Linked DNA regions of Homo sapiens: region 2 is linked to region 1. Evidence: promoter capture Hi-C in human tissues and cell types (Jung and others, 2019). All regions are on one chromosome and are shown on one strand. The core of a region is centred on a gene start or on the middle of the fragment in contact, and the rest is flanking DNA. Distances in the headings are between cores, read along the strand shown.

The links. Contacts are between HindIII fragments. The study calls those that stand out against the background at their distance.
Region 2: a fragment that was not itself captured here is called in contact with the fragment with the promoter of ZBTB37 in region 1 in 1 of the 25 tissues and cell types used here (bladder).

The regions. Positions count from the first base shown.
Region 1 is chr1:173,867,057-173,869,683 of GRCh38, reverse strand. ZBTB37 (zinc finger and BTB domain containing 37) reads right to left here and starts at 1,304. Exons shown (of 5, transcript NM_001122770.3): 1 at 1,279-1,304; 2 at 564-759. It overlaps GAS5 (growth arrest specific 5), which reads left to right and starts at 1,695. Exons shown (of 12, transcript NR_002578.4): 1 at 1,695-1,724. SNORD74 (small nucleolar RNA, C/D box 74) reads left to right here and starts at 1,939; the gene lies at 1,939-2,010. RefSeq lists an enhancer at 26-1,225 and a silencer at 860-1,269. The HindIII fragment of the contact is 7,781 bases long and covers 1-2,627 here.
Region 2 is chr1:173,189,110-173,191,736 of GRCh38, reverse strand. The region is part of intron 1 of TNFSF4 (TNF superfamily member 4); the gene reads left to right. Among named protein-coding and RNA genes, the nearest start is that of TNFSF4, 17 kb to the left of the region's middle. The HindIII fragment of the contact is 4,071 bases long and covers 1-2,627 here.

The DNA.
Region 1 (2,627 bases), core at 55-2,554:
ATATTTCTAAGCTTAAGAATCAGAGCCCCCCCCACAAAAAGACTTTGGTTATAGGGCTGTGAAGCAAACTCTAGGAAAAATCCCACAGCTGTGCCAGGATTCAACCAAGATGCAGAGAATGTGAAGTTCAGTTGTCAAAATTAGGAAAGCTGGGTAAATCTGCCAAATTCGAAGTTGGCAATTCCGAGGTGGTGATGAATACTTCCATCCTGAAACTTAGTTCTCCAGATCCGATGAAAAAATACAGCATTTACCAAGTATGCCAACATTTTTCCATTAAAATATTTTTAAAAAATGGCTGAAACACTAAACCTGAAGCTGTATACAAGATAGTTGAAAGTACAGTTTCAACTACTGAAAATAGTTTGTATAAATCCGAACAGGAAGACATTTACTTAAGCCCAATGTGCGTTCACTTATCTATATATTACATAGTTACACCACACCTGAAACTTCAGGAACTTACTCTGCCAAGCTCACAGTACTGCCCCGCATTAACAACACACTTATTAAATAGGGAAGTGTATACACTGTTTTCAACAATCAACTTTAGCCAATCTGACCTTTTTCCAAAGCGTTATTGTTTGTTTTGAAACTTTTAATCCAATAAGAGCCTCTGTCGATGCCATCATGAATTCAGATGTGTTTATTTTGGAGCCTACACCAGCGCCTTTTTTGTTTGCTCTTTCCGGCAATTCCCCAGTGAGGAAGCCCCTGGAGGAAAGTCTTTCGCTACCGTCGGCACTGGAGGGGTGAGAGCTGTAAAAGGGAGAATTGGGAACGGCATGGGGTTGGCCACTCCAGCACTTGAGCAGCTTTCTTCTGCGTTAGGAAGCCTGGGGAGAGGGGAACTGGCTAAAGGGCAAAATGTCACTGAGGAACTTCGGAGAAGATGGGGACAAGGCGTCGGGCGGGGGAGCCAGCGCTCAGGTGAGAACTAGGAAGGGGGCGGCGCCCAGGGACCGGCTCCAGGCGGCGGCGGGCGGGGAGCTGCCAGGAGGTGGGTGTGCGTATCTGGGTGTGTCCCGGCTGCGGTGGGGGAGGGGGCCGCCCTTCCCGGGGTCCTGAGGGAGGGGCCCCGCGAGGGGGCGGGTCCGGCAGATCAGCCCGGCCGGGGGCCAAGGGGGTGGAAGGTCGCCCGGTGCCTGGAGGCGGGGTGAAGGAAAGTAGCTGAGCGCCCCAGGAGCGCGCTGCGGCGGAGGGCGGGCGAGGTGACCCCGGTGCAGGGAAGTGGCACTGGGGTGTGGGGCCCGAGTCCAGTCAAGGAGCAGCACCTACCTCCGGGGGTGGAAATGGGCCGGAATGGGCCGGAACACCGTCCCGGAAGTGAAATCCCCCACCCCCTCCCACGGAGCGGGCGACGTGCCGGAAGGAAATCACTCAGCCTTACACCGCCCCCCCTTCCCCCATCCCCAGAGCTTTCCTTGCCTCGCGCCCCCTCCCCTCTCTGCTCTTCCTCCTCAGTCGGGAGGAGGGCGGGAGCACGGCATCACGTGGACGGTCATGTCTCTGCCCACAATGGCGAGGAAGGGCGGGGAAAAGGGGCGGACTTAAGGGGTGGGAAGAAGGTGATACTGGATGAGAGGAAGATTGAGGGAGGTTAGGGGGAGGAGCCGAAGCGGACGCTGCCGGGAGCGTGCGTCGTGACGTCATCAAAAGAACTCTTATATACAGGAGCCCAGGCACCATACTGTCTTTTCGAGGTAGGAGTCGACTCCTGTGAGGTATGTTTTATCTTTGCGAATGTTGCGGGTTTTGGGGCGCTCCAGCCTTTGTCTGCTAAGGTCACCCTGAATTGACTGGGACTTCTAAGCCAGTCGCGCGCCTTTGCAGGGCCTACAAGTTGAGGATGGTGGGGGATTGCACATATGGTGCATGCGTGACCTAAGCTGCGACTATGTTAGAGTAGAACTGCGGAGAAGCCTCGGCTCTCGTGCCCTGCCTCTGATGAAGCCTGTGTTGGTAGGGACATCTGAGAGTAATGATGAATGCCAACCGCTCTGATGGTGGCACATGCCGAGTCACCCGAGTAAGCTATTGTTAAGGGCCGTGACCCGAGCCTCCATCAGCCGTCCGCTCTCATGAAAGGCTGTCGGTGGTAGTCCACGTGCTTAAGTGCCTGCATTCCGCAGTGTCACCAATATTTCCATTAGTGTTTCTTTTTTCTTTTTTGAGACCGAGCCTCGTTCTGTCACCCAGGCTGGAATGCAGTGGCTCGACATCGGTTAATGGCAACCTCCGCGTCCCGAGTTAAGCAGTTCTGCCTCAGCCTCCCAAGTAACTGGGACTACAGGCGCGCGCCACCATGCTAGGCTTTTATATTTTTAGTAGAGACGGGGTTTCACCATGTTGGCGAGACTGGTCTTGAACTCCTGACCTCAGGTGATCCACCAGCCGTGGTCCCCCAACATACTGGGATTACAAGCCGTGAGCCACCGCGCCCGGCCGCCATCGGTGGTTCTTAACTGCGGGTGCAGTGCTTCTTTGTAACATTAAGTGTATCCTTTACCTGTCGCTAGATAATGAATGGTATGTTACCTGCATCATTGGTTTAAAAAGACGAACCGTTTTTTTAAAGAACACTCTTTAAAAAAAAGAACCGTGGAACAATGAATTAAAATCTGTAC
Region 2 (2,627 bases), core at 87-2,586, 680 kb after region 1:
ACTTTTCCAAATTCAAAGAACCAGAGAAGTCACAGTTTGAACTAAATCTGACTCCAAAGTCTATGCTCTTTGTGCCATCCTACCAGGCTGCCTACCCAAGTGCAAGGAGATCAGAACAAATAGTTGGCTGGATCATTAGACACAGAAAGGATATATGTGGCAATAAAGCTTGACAATGAGGTTGGAGCCAGGCTCTTCAGAGCTTTGACTTGGGCACTGTGGGGGTGTCTCTGGGCACTGGGGTAGTCAGCATGAGGTCATCAGGTATGGAGGATGAGGGGGAAGATGGTTGGAAGGCCAACAAATAAGAAGAAGGACCATCTTTTTCTACTTCACAACATTGCCTAAACTTGATGTTAGTAAGAGACTTCTGAGGATATGCAAACTTCTACCCCTATGTGACCTTCAGGAGAAGGAACAGGATACCTGAGTCTGGAGTTCCAGTAGGTCAGCTTCCTCCAGGTTGATCTACTGGAAGTCTAGACTCCAACACGGAGGAAGTCACATGTGCTTTACTCACTCACTGCCTGTCAGCATCATCGTCCCAGAGAATGTCTGTTTGGTCACTGCCACCCTTACTTCATCAGGGCACCTCAAAAAGTTGGAACATTCCTTAAGTTGCAGGATATTTTTGGAGATCTTTGCAAAGTCAGTCAAAATAATCAAATCACAAGGGCTTTTAGATCAGGGAGTGAAAGTAAATTTGGGAATGAGGAAGCTTTATGTTTTTTTCTCTTTTATTAAATTAAACTTAAAGTCACAACTTCTAAAATCTAAATCATGGAAAGCTAGTGCTGAAAGGAATGCCCCTGATCTTCTAGTGACTTTTAAAGATGAGAAACTGCCATCTAAGGAGATTATGAAACTTGCTTAAGTTGGCACAGTGCCTGCCTGCCTGGCATTAGCACTCTGTCACTGCACGCTGAGGCCTGTGCTGTTTGTGCTACTCCACAGAGGGCTTCTTTCTAACTTTAGCACGTGGCAATTCATGCTGGCACTTAGCCCAGAGAGCAGTGGAAACATTTATTTACCCAGGAAACTATGGTCATTGGGTCATTTGCCTTCTGACAGGTTTTCTTCCAGAGCATTGCCCTTAAGCACGAAGGGCACTAATTAGCTATCACACCACGAAGAGTACAGAGAAGGGGGAGAGCTAAAGACTCCTGCTTCTACCCAAGTCAGTGCCTCTCTCCATGTGCTCAGCACATTGAACTCATATTGTTCCTGCAGCCCAGTCCCTGGCAGGGCTCAGAATGACTCTCCATTCTTCCTATGCTGCCTGTTGGTTTTAGCTGGTAAGGCTTGTGATTATACTTGTAATAGAAGTAGGGAATTCCTCGTCTGTGTGGGCAGGTGCCAATGGAATATGCTTGACTGAAGCTACCAGTGTGCCAGGAGAGTGGGAAACAGGAATTCCCCTACCCAGGGCATAAAAACAAATCCGTCTTCACATTTTTGATTAGGACGTCATGCCAAAATAAGCTTGTGGGAAGAGCCGTTGTTCTTGGCAGGCATAATAGGCTTTTATTTTTTTGAGATGGAGTCTCCCTATGTCCCTCAGGATGGAGCGTAGTGGGGCGATCTTGGCCCCCTCCCAGGTTTCAGTGATTCTCCTGCCTCAACCTCCCAAGAAGCTGGGATTACAGGCATGTGCCACCATGCCTGGATAATTTTTTTTTTTTTTTTTTAAGCAGAGATGGGGTTTCACCATGTTGGCCAGGCTGATCTCGAACTCCTGACCTCAGCTGATCTGCCTGCCTCAGCCTCCCAAAGTGCTGGGATTACAGGCATGAGCCACCGTGCCCAGCAGACATTTTTTTCTACTTTCTTTTTTAGTAGATAAGACAAACAAATGGCACAAAACTTTTTAAAAAATTAGACCATGAAAAGTAGAGGTCAATCCTACTCCTGACCTCAGGCTTCCAATTTTTTTCTCCAGGGACAACATTTGCAACTAGTGTCTTGTGTATTCTTTCAGATACATTAATGTATTGTATATTCTTTCAATGCCCACACAGGTGTTATTATTATTATTTAACACAAATGGCAATATATTTTATGTATAATTCTGCACCCCCCCCAACTTTTTTTTACTTAAGAGATCTCGGAGTTGGTTCCATATTGAGCTTATTTGTTCTTTTAACCACAAAAGTACTGTAAAAGTTTTATCTATCAGGTTTCCTGTCTTCACTGTTTTACTTCTCTTTTAGCAATTGAATACTGACTTAATTCAAGTTAGGTTTTTAAAGCTGTTGAAGAGAAAGATCCAATGTTTAAAAAAGCTACACCAAATATATTGAGCTCTGTAGGATTGGGACAGTTTTTATTGCCTTTGTCCCCTGAAAATAGGATGCTTTTACTCCTGCGTTAAAGTGAAAGACCAGACATGCAGGAAGCTTCCAGAACTCCCTCCCAGTGCATTCTGGGAGTCTGTGGCCATGATGGATTGATTGAACCAGCATTCTCCATGAGGGAATCTCTATGACTGAATAGGTTTCTTAACAATATGACTATAGTGCTACGTTATCCAAAATGGGAAATTGGGGCACAGTGAGACAAAACAGTATACCAAAGAAGAGTTTGGCAGAAATGCGGACAGATCTCAGACGCTTGCATGAAGGAGCACA